2 separate regions of the Homo sapiens genome follow, and region 2 is linked to region 1. Evidence: promoter capture Hi-C in human tissues and cell types (Jung and others, 2019). All regions are on one chromosome and are shown on one strand. Each heading gives the region's core, a stretch centred on a gene start or on the middle of the fragment in contact. The rest is flanking DNA. Distances are from core to core; before and after follow the strand shown. Region 1 holds the start of LEO1 (LEO1 component of Paf1/RNA polymerase II complex). Region 2 overlaps TMOD3 (tropomodulin 3).

Region 1 (5,725 bases), core at 701-3,200:
GAGACTCCGTTAAAAAAAAAAAAAAAAAAAAAAAAGATGTTCAGCATCATTAGCCTTTGGGAAAGTGTAAACTGAAACCACAATGAGACACCACTTGATAACATCAAGGATGGCTACTTTAGAAACAAATAAAAACTTAAAATAACTGTTGGCAAAGATGTGGGGAAAGGGAACCCTGGTGCATTGCTGGTGGTAATGTAAAATGGCTCAACCACTATGGAAAACAGTTTGGCTGCTCCTCAAAATATTAAAGAATTACCATATGACTCTGCACTCCTACATAATACCCTCCTCCCAAAATTAAAAACAGGCACCCAAACATGTACATGAATTTATTTATTTTTTTGGAGACAGAGTCTCACTTTATCACCCAGGTTGAAGTGAAGTGATGCAATCTCAGCTCACTGCCAACCTCTGTCTCCTGGGTTCAAGTGATTCTCATGCCTCAGCCTTCTGAGTACCTGGGACTACAGGCACGCACGACCACACCTGGCTAACAGTTTGTATTTTTAGTAGAGACAGGGTTTCACCATGTTGCCCAGGCTGGTCTTCAACTCCTGAGCTCAGGCAAATCCGCCTGCCGGAACCAGGAATGTTTACAGTAGCACTATTCAAACAACCCAATGTCCATCAACAGATAAATGGATTAACAAATTTAGGGTGTGCACATTCAATGGAATATTATTAAATCATTAAAAATGAATAAAGTACTGATATGTGCTACAATGCCTTGAAGACATTATGCTAAGTAAAAGAAACCAGACACAAAAGACCACAATGCATGATTCAATTTATATGAAATTCCCAGAACAGATAAGTACAGAAACAATAGCAGACAGGGGTTGGAGGAAGGAGCATATGAGGAGTAAGTGCTTTATGAACAGTGTTTTATTTGGGGGTGATGAAAATAACAACTAGATATATGTTGTCTACAAGAGACTCACTTTACTTGGAGCCTAGAGGGTTGCAAGAATTCTGAACTTGGTCTTGGGTTCTCACTTCAAATAGCTCCTATTCATATTTCAAGTGCCCGTAGTCTCAACTACTTGGAGGCTGAGGCAGAAGGATGGCTTGAGCCCAGAAGTTCAAGGCCAACCTGAGCAACACAGTGAGACCCTGTCTCTAAAAAAGTAAACTTTAAAAAAACACCCACAATCCTGTGCCAGAAATAACTTCCAAGCAGCATGCACATACACTAATTCATTCATTTCATCAACAAATCCTTCATTCCTCCTCTCTGTACACAGACCCCATGCACTCCCCAATCTAACATCACAGACTCCGGAAATTCTGGAGTTTCTGCACAAGCTCTTAGAGAACACATTCTCTCCTATGTGAAACATCTATCTGTAACCCCATCCCATTATCCGTCCCAGACTCGTCATCCAGACATCTCAAGCTCCCTATCACACCATGCTCTGGTTTCATTCAAGACGGCATTCTGAGGCCCTCTGTAAATTCGCCCACCCCATCCCATATTCCTGCATTCATTTCCATTCATTCAAAAACAGCCCTTACTCTACGCTGGCCTGTGCAAGGCAAGGCGGAACAGGACTCCAACGTTCCTACCCGCGCTGCGCAGGCTCGCCTGCACTTCCACCCATGCCCCGCGCCCCTTTCGCTCCACAAGCTCCCAGGAACCGTCTGCTCCACCGACACCCAGAGCCTCGAGGCGCAGACTGTCTGACTCTCCATCCTGCCCGCCGGAGGAGGATGGCACCTCCGGGAGTGCAGGGGGCGCTGAGGCAGGAGTGGAGGAAACGCCACCTCTTGCCCGCGGCGCTGGAGCCTCCACGGTTGTCCGGCTCCCACAGCGGAAGGCCTGCCACGCACCCATCCTCCGAAGACCAGCGAACCCACCTTTACGCTCAGCTTCGCTGTCGGCGTCGCTCCCGAAGAGATCCTCCATATCCGCCATTATCGCTCACGTCCGCTGCTGCCTCGGTTAGGGGCAGCTCCCGGCCTCTCTTTACGGCACGGAACCACTGAAACACGACAGTGTCGCAAAGATTCGCCGAAGACACTCCTTTCCTTACGTGACCTAGTTTTCGCTCGCCCAGTGAACCTGTTCTCGCCTGGGTATGCATGGTATATAAGCCCGGCCATTTCGTCAATATCTGTTATTTGCCAGGATTCTTACCAGGGGGCGGGGGGGTCCTGCGTTCGGTTGCGGGTGTGGATGGGGTGGGCGGTGACTGGCGCTCTCTGGGGAAGGGCCTCTGGCTGGATTAAACCTATCGCGAGTCAGGATTGAAGCCCTTTGTTTCTTACTGAGCAGCTGTTCTCCAGTTATTTCATCCCAAACCCCTTTACCCTCTTAAAAATTGTTGAGACGGAGTCTCGCTCAGTCGCCCAGGCTGGAGTGCAGTGGCGCGATCTCGGCTCACAGCAACCTCCACTGTCCGGGTTCAAGCAATTCTAATTCCTCAGCCTCCCGAGTAGCTGGGACGACAGGCGCCCGCCACCACACCCGGCTAATTTTTTGTATTTTAGTAGACACGGGGTTTCACCGTGTTGCCCAGGCTGGTCGCAAACTCAGGAGCTCAGGCAATCCGCCCGCCTCGGCCTCCCAAAGTGCTGGGATTACAGGTACGGGTATTGATATTTACTGTATTCTTACTAATACGGTAATAAATTTTTAAGTTACTAATTCATTTAAAAATAATATACATGTTAACAAACAGCTTTTTTAAGCTTTAAATGACCATTTTTTTGGCCGGGCGCGGTCGCTCACGCCTGTAATCCCAGCACTTTGGGAGGCCGAGGCGGGTGGATCACGAGGTCAGGAGATCGAGACCATCCTGGCTAACACGGTGAAACCCCGTCTCTACTAAAATAAAAAAAATTAGCCGGGCGTGGTTGTGGGCGCCTGTCGTCCCAGCTACTAGGGAGGATGAGGCAGGAGAATGGCGTGAACCCAGGAGGCGGAGCTTGCAGTGAGCCGAGATCGCGCCACTGCACTCCAGCCTGGGCACGAGACTCCATCTCAAAAAAATAATAATAATAAAATAAAATAATTAAAAATAAAAACATTAGCCAGGCATGATGGCATGCATTTGTAGCCCTAGCTACTCAGGAAACTGAGAATGGAGGATCACTTGAGCCCAGGAGTTGGAGGCTGCAGTGAGCTATGATCACGCCACTTCACTCTAGCCTGAGTGACAGAGTAAGGCTCTGTTTCTTAGAAGAAAAAGTGAGAAAAGAGTACATCCTGTGTTACATTACCTAATTAGGCCATTATGAGAGTTTTGGTCTTGGACAAGCAACAATGAATATTTAGTTTGGAGATTATATGATATATATTTTTGTAGTAAACTTCAGTGCTTAACAGGGTCCAAATGGGTGGGACTGGGTATGTAATCATCAATCCTAGAGCTTTTGTGTATGAAGCGGATGTTGCAAGAGAAGATACATAGATAACCTGAAAACTATCTGGAATACTGGAAAAACAAGTATTCCATTTGACAGTGATTCAGTTTCATTTTCATTTAGAGTACTGTCCCTGAAAAGTACTTTGATTAAATTTATTTTCTTTTGATACAGTGTCTCTGTTGCCTAGGCTGGAGCGCAGTGGCGCCATCATAGCTCACTGCAGCCTCAAACTCCTGGCCTCAAGAGGTCCTCCTGCCTCGGCCTCCTAACACGTTGGGATTACAAGTATGGGCCACAGTGCCTGGCTAAATCTTAATAAATTGAATTACAGTTTGGTCTGGTGAGTCACCATGTCCATATTCCTGGCTATCAGAATAAACGTGTTTTTCCCATATGAATAGTATAAAACAAATCACTTCTGACTCTTGGACAGATTTTTTTGTTTATGTTTTGGCTACACTTTTTTTTTTTAAACAGAGTTTCGCTCTTGTTGCCCAGGCTGGAGTACAATGGCGTGATCTCAGCTCACTGCAACCTCCACCTCCCGGGTTCGAGTGATTCTCCTGCCTCAGCCTTCTGAGTAGCTGGGATTACAGGCATGCGCCACCATATCCGGTTAATTTTGTATTTTTAGTAGAGATGGGATTTCATCATGTTAGTCAGGCTGGTCTCAAACTCCTGACCTCAGGTGATCCACCCGCCTTGGCCTCCCAAAGTGATGGAATTACAGGCCTGAGCCACCGTGCCCAGCCTTGTTTTGGTTACACTTTATGCTGACCATTGCTCTTCTACTCATTATCTTTCTTCATAAAGGATATAATACATGAGATTGGACTTAAGGTAAATCAATCACAATCATTTTGCAGTATTTCTTACCTGAGGTTATCACTTTGATTGAAGTTTATTTTATTTTTAATACTTTTTTAAAAACTTAAAAAAATATATAGAAACAAGGTCTCACTATGTTGCCTAGACTGGTCTTGAATTCCTGGCCTCAAGTGATCCTCGTGTCTTGGCCTCCAAAAGTGTTGGAATTACAGGTGTAAGCCACTACACCCAGTTTGATTAAAGTTTACAGTGCTAAATAACTTCATTTACCCCCAGAGATGGAGAATTTAATCCTATTTGGTTTGTGTTCAACTAATTTAACTTTGAATGTTAAGATGATCTTGACAGGCCGGGCACGGTGGCTCACCCCTGTAATCCCAGCACTTTGGGAGGCCGAGGCAGGTGGATCACAAGGTCAGGAGATCGAGACCATCCTGGCTAACACAGTGACCCCGTCTCTACTAAAAATATTTAAAAAAAAGTTAGCAGGGCATGGTGACGGGCACCTGTAGTCCCAGCTACTGGGGAGGCTGAGGCAGGAGAATGGCATGAACCCAGGAGGCGGAGCTTGCAGTGAGCTGAGATCACGCCACTGCACCCGAGCCTGGGAGACAGAGCGAGACTCCGTCTCAAAAAAAAAAAAAAAAAAAAAAAGATGATCTTGACATTTGTTCCTAGGAATGGAGAATTTCTTTTTTCCCCCCCCGCAAGACAGAGTCTTGCTCTGTCACCCAGGCTGGAGTGCCGTGGCATGACCTTGGCTCACTGCAACCTCCGCCTCCCGGCTTCAAGTGATTCTCCTGTCTCAGCCTCCCAAGTAGCTGGGACTATAGGCATGCACCACCATGCCCAGCTAATTTTTGTATTTTTAGTAAAGACAGGGTTTCACCATGTTGGCCAGGCTGGTCTTGAATTCCTGACCTCAGGTGATCCATCCACCTCAACCTCCCAAATGCTGGGATTACTGGCGTCAGCCACCGCACCAGGCCTGAGAATTTCATCTATTAGGTGTGTGATTAAATAAAACAACTTCAGAGTGGCTTTATCTTCGTTCTTTCAGTTTTTGAAAGAACGTTCTGCTTTCATAAGGTGAAGCTAGATCCTCAGAATAATATCTTTTTAGATACCATAGAACCCGAAGAACAAAGATTCAATGAGGTTGAGTACATAACACAATACAATTAATGTATCATCACAAACATTTTTACAAGGTAATCAAAAAAATACTCAACAGGCCGGGCGCGGTGGCTCACGCCTGTAATCCCAGCACTTTGGGAGGCCAAGGCAGGTGGATCACGAGGTCAAGAGATCAAGACCATCCTGGCCAACATGGTGAAACCTCGTCTCTACTAAGAATACAAAAATTAGCTGGGTGGGGTGGCATGCACCTGTAGTCCCAGCTACTCAGGAGGCTGAGGCAGGAGAATCGCTTGAATCCGGGAGGCGGAGGTTGCAGTGAGCCAAGATCGCGCCACTGCACTCAAGCCTGGAGACAGAGCAAGACTCCGTCTAAAAAAAAAAAGTA
Region 2 (5,437 bases), core at 1,607-4,106, 55 kb before region 1:
CCATGGACAACATAGCAAGACCCCATCTTTACAAAAAATTTAAAAATTAGCCAGACACCTATAGTACCAGCTACTTAGGAGTCTAAAGTGGGAGAATTGCTTGAGCCTGGGAGGTTGAAGCAGCAGTGAGCTTTGATCATGCCACTGCATTCCAGCCTGGGTAACAAGAGTGAGACTGTCTCAAAAAACAAAACAAAACAAAAAAATGGGTTTTTTTGTTGTTGTTTTTGTCTTTTACTTAGGACACCTGCTCTAGAGGCTAGATAAAAATAGATTGTAATGGCCGGGTGCAGTGGCTCACACTTGTAATCCCAGCACTGTGGAGGCTGAGGTGGGCGGATCACTTGAGGTCAGGAGTACGAGACCAGTCTGGCCAACATGGTGAAACCCCATCTCTACTAAAAATACAAAAAATTAGTTGGGCGTGGTGATGCGCACCTGTAATTCTAGCTACTTGGGAGCCTAAGGCAGGAGAATCACTTGAACCTGGGAGGCAGAAGTTGCAGTGAGCCGAGATTGTGCCATTGCACTCCAGCCTGGGTGACAGAGTGAGACTCCATCTCAAAAAAATATATGTATTAAGAAATACCACCAGCAGTGTTTTGCTAACATAGCTGTAACAAATTATTAAGTTCTTTTTTTTTTTTAAGATGGAGGTTCACTCTTGTCGCCCAGGCTGGAGCGCAATGGTGCGATCTCAGCTCACTGCAACCTCCGCCTCCTGGGTTCAGATGATTTTCCTGCCTCAGCCTCCTGGGTAGCTGGGACTACAGGTGCCCGCCACCACGCCTGACTAATTTTTGTATTTTCAGTAGAGACGGAGTTTCACCATCTTGGCCAGGCTGGTCTCGAACTCCTGACCTCGTAATCCACCCGCCTCGGCCTCCCAAAGTGCTGGGATTACAGGTGTTTGCCACCGCGCCCAGCCCAAATTATTACATTCGTAAGACAGACACCTCTTAGAATCTATATATATGAGGTTTTACTCCCTTTTCTACACTCAGTATGTTTTAATTGATGCAAAGCAATTAATTGGCCTAAAATGTTTCAAATATTATAGTCTATACATTCAGAAAGTAAGGTTTAAGAATGAATTATTGGTGCTTCTTGGTGGGTGTATATAGCAGTTTTTAGAAGTTTAAATTTCACCTCTACTCAGAAAGATAAGCTTTTGATTCAGTGGTTTCAAATTTTCAGATCAATCCATTTAAGAATTGTTTTTTCAAATGTATATACACGTATAACATAAAAATTTTTGTAATTTCAAATGTCTTTTTTTCAGTTTTTTGGATGAATTATTATATTTGGTTTTAGTTACATTTAAAAGCTTGAAAATTACCTTTCTAACAATCATTTGAATGTCATTCATTGTCACATGAAATCAGGTATTTACGTTTTTTTCTAATGCTAAAATATCCAACATTGTAATTGCCCTATTTTTCCATTTTTATAAGTATAAAAGCAATGAATTTTAACACTGGTATTTAAATAATACAAAATATTATCCAAATTCATAACAGCACAGTGAAGTTTCTTTTGAAGACTATGTACTGGAAGCATTTAGAACTTACCAATATATACTGGGATAAATCGTTTCAATAAAGTTTATCAAATATTCTGTAAACTTGGACTTTTTGAAAAAGCACATAATCCCTTTAGTTCCTAAGTTCTAAAATTCATTCCTTACATCCTTCTTCAAGAAAAAGTTTATCAGTTTCCCTGAGTTATTCAGTCCTACCTGTTATGGACTGAATGTTTGTATCCACACCCGCCCCCCCACCCCAAATTCACATGTTGAAGCCCTAACCTCCAATGTGATGGTATTTGGAGATGGGGCCTTTGGAAGGTAATTAAGGCTAGATAGGGTCACAAGGTTGGTCCCCTTATGATGGCATTTGTGTTCTTATACAAAGAGACAGGAGACTCTCTCCATCATGTGAAGATACAGCAAAACAGCAGCTGTCTGCAAGCCAGGAAGGGAACCCTCACCAGGAACCAAACCATGATCTCGGACGTCCCAGCCTCTAGGAACGTAAGCAATAAATTTCTGTTATTTAAGCCACCCAGTCTATGGTATCTTGTTAGGACAATCTGACCTGGCTAAATACCACCATATTAAGTTGAATCATATAAAATTAGTTATAATAGTTGAACACTTTTACTCATAAAAATAGTAATTTCCTAAGGTTCAACCTAATATCATCAGTACTAGGTCCTGTCTGTTCATAAAATTGAATTGAGTTGACAAATACGCAAAGAGCAGGGTCGGACAGGTGCGGTGGCTCACGCCTGTAATCCCAGCACTTTGGGAGGCCGAGGCAGGCGGATCACCTGAGGTGAGGAGTTCAAGACCAGCCTGGCCAACATGGTGAAACTCTGTCTCTACTAAAAATACAAAAATTAGGCAGGCATGGTGGTGCATGCCTGTAGTCCCAGCTACTCAGGAGGTTGAGGCAGGAGAATAACTTGAACCCAGGAGGTGAAGGTTGCAATGAGCTGAAATCGCGCCACTGCACTCCAGCCTGGGCAATAGAGTGAGACTCTGTCTTAAAAAAAAAAAAAAAGAAAAGAAAAGAGCAGGGTCCTGTGATACAGTACACTCTGAACCTGATGGGAACCAGTCCTTCTAATAAACTAGAGATGGCTTTTACAGTAAAGCAAAGACATCTCTTATCAATCACCTATATCCATGAATCAAAAGAGAAAACCAGGTCAGGCATGATGGCTCACACCTGTAATCACAGCATTTTGGTAGGTTGAGGTGGGCAGATCACCTGAGGTCAGGAATTTGAGACTAGCCTGGCCAACATGGCAAAACCCCATCTCTAATAAAAATACAAAAATTAGCCGGGTGTGATGGCACACGCCTGTAATCCCAGGTACTCAGGAGGCTGAGGCAGGAGAATCGCTTGAACCCGGGAGGCAGAGGCTACAATGAACTGAGATCACCACTGTGCTCCAGCCTGGGCAACAGAGCAAGACTCCTTCTCAAAAAAAAAAAAAAAAAAAAAAAAAAAAGGCTGGGCTCAGAGGCTCACACCTGTAATCCCAACACTTTGGGAGGCCAAGGTGGGCGGATCACCTGAGGTCAGGAGTTCAAGACCAGCCTGGCCAACATGGCGAAACCCCGTCTCTACTAAAACTACAAAAATTAGGTGCATTGGCGGGTGTCCATAATTCCAGCTACTCAGGAGGCTGAGACAGGAGAATCGCTTGAGCCCAGGAGGCAGAGGTTGCAGTGAGCTGAGATCGCGCCACTGTACTTCCAGCCTAGGTGACAGGGTGAGACTCCGTCTCAAAAAAAAAAAAGAGAAAACCAGGGAAATGTGTAATGGGTTTGAGGAAACTTAAGGATAAAGGTTAAATAATTTAAAGTTTTCAGAGTTTTCCTGACTTAGGGGAATAAAGAAATTGACCTGGAATCTTTAATGTCGTTCTGCCTTCTGAGAATGGCTGTTGAGCTTCACATTCATGTACAGGAAGCCTCAATGCATATTCCCTTTGGTGAGTCAGGGAGATTCAGGTGCTTGAATTGTGAGCTGTTCCCCTGAGTTCAAGAGGACTTGAGTGCCAGGGACTGGCTGTGAGGCAACAGCGCCCTCACCATGTCCTCCAAAGCAGTCCAACTAAAAATGCTCAGCCTGGTGCTACCACTGCTCTTATAGGTACCAAATAGTGGGAGTGGCTTGAAAATTTGTGAGTCCAAAATTTCCAAACATTTTTTTCCTTCAACTTTAAGCTTTCCTGCATGGTCTGCAAAGGTTGAGGGCTTGTAGATCCCAACCCAGTCCCCCAGCTCCTGTGCTGTTCACAGACATACCAGATCCTCAAGGCCAGCCCCTTAGAAAGAATACCTGATGTTACAATTAAGTTGTGCTAGTACCCTTCATTGTTCTGAATGAGTCTTTCAATTCTCCTTTAGAAGCTAGTGCTAATTATGAATGTGTTTAATATACAAGCACGAAATTATGCTGTAAAAGTATAAAAGGGAAGGAAATAGAATTGTAAAGTGGGGTTTTCGGCATGGTGAAATGGGCTTTTTTTTCCCCTTTGATCATTTCTACTTAACAAAACATTTTAAAATATTTATCTAGTATTCAACTCTCAGAGGTAGAGAAATATAAACATTGAATTGAAGGATTTGTGTGGTCAAATCTAAAGCCCACCTAGTTCAAGAAACTGATGTCAGAGAAGGGACTGCCCAACATAACAGCATTTGTTTGTTCATTCAGTAAATAGTTTTTAGGTTCTATTATATTCCAGCTATTGTAGCAATCACAAAACTAGAAATCAAGTCCGGTATTTTGTTTCCCATTGCCCTTTTCCCTAAACCTAATGGTGCCTGTTTATCTCAGGTAGATATTTTGGGTATCTGTCTCCATAAGGTCACTAAAGTATTAGCCCAGCATTGTGATCACTGTGCATGGAAGATCCTAACCCTTGTCTCAGAAAAGCTTACTTGTTTACTTAAGTAAAAGCTTTGTACAGAGGGCTTAAGCTCTTTAAACCTCAGCTTCCACATCTATAAAAGGGGTATAACAGCACCTGCCCTAAGGATTAGAAGTGGTCAGGCCCACACAGCTCTGGTTAAGTACCAGGTATCCAGTGAGCTCTCCCTGCTGTACCTGCTCTTCCAAGAGCACAGTGCCATATGGGAAATGGAATTAATGCCATACTAAGGGGACTACAGAGCACAGAAAGGCCCCAAACCCAGCTAGGCAGGCCAGAGGACATCCTGGAGGAGGCCACAACTGAGCCAAACTTAACAGCAGGAATGCACTAAAACCTAAGATCCACTCACAGTAAACAGTTAACAAAATCCTCCTCTTTGGGAAAAAATGAATTTTCTAACATCGTGGACTTGCTTTTGAAAACTTTTTATTCACAACTAGGATTATGCAAAAGCAACTCAACTTCAGTTAAAACAAGTCATTTCATAATTGTTTTAAAACAAACTATTGAATACAATGAGTGCACATTTTAGGGCTTTATATCATCTTCTTCCTCTTCATGCTCTGCTTTCCTCTTTCTGGAAGGTTTACCTGAATAAATATGAGAGGTAAGACATAAAATTCAATATAAAATGTTTCTGGAAATTTTATCTAAAATGGTTCTGACCTGACAGTGACGAGCCAGCCCTTCACGTTAGAGCCCAGTTTCTCCACCCTTGGTAGCCAATGTGTGTCCCCACAGACACTGCCTAGATCAGGCAACTGAACCTAGGTTTCCCCTGGGCAGTGGTCAGGGCTGAAGGGACACTTACTTTTTTTTTTTTTTGAGACAGAGTTTTGCTCATTTCCCAGATTGGAGTGCAGTGGCGCGATCTCGGCTCACTGCAACCTCGGCTCACTGCAACCTCCATGTCCTGGGTTCGAGCAGTTCTCCTGCCTCAGCCTCCCAAATAGCTGGGATTCTAGGCATGCACCACCATGCCCGG

The links. The method cuts DNA at HindIII sites, captures the fragments that hold promoters and counts their contacts. A contact is called where the count stands out against the background at its distance.
Region 2: a fragment that was not itself captured here is called in contact with the fragment with the promoter of LEO1 in region 1 in 1 of the 25 tissues and cell types used here (small bowel).

What each region holds. Positions count from the first base shown.
Region 1 is chr15:51,969,828-51,975,552 of GRCh38, forward strand. It overlaps LEO1 (LEO1 component of Paf1/RNA polymerase II complex), which reads right to left and starts at 1,951. Exons shown (of 12, transcript NM_138792.4): 1 at 1,861-1,951. The coding sequence starts at 1,918. It also overlaps a transcript of MAPK6 not described here. RefSeq lists enhancers at 1,068-1,644, 1,468-1,997, 1,645-2,220. The HindIII fragment of the contact is 14,890 bases long and covers 1-5,725 here.
Region 2 is chr15:51,914,102-51,919,538 of GRCh38, forward strand. TMOD3 (tropomodulin 3) reads left to right here. Exons shown (of 10, transcript NM_014547.5): 10 at 1-1,624. It overlaps LOC112268148 (a long non-coding RNA gene), which reads left to right and starts at 5,040. Exons shown (of 3, transcript XR_007064635.1): 1 at 5,040-5,437. It also overlaps the pseudogene LOC100422556. The HindIII fragment of the contact is 3,219 bases long and covers 1,248-4,466 here.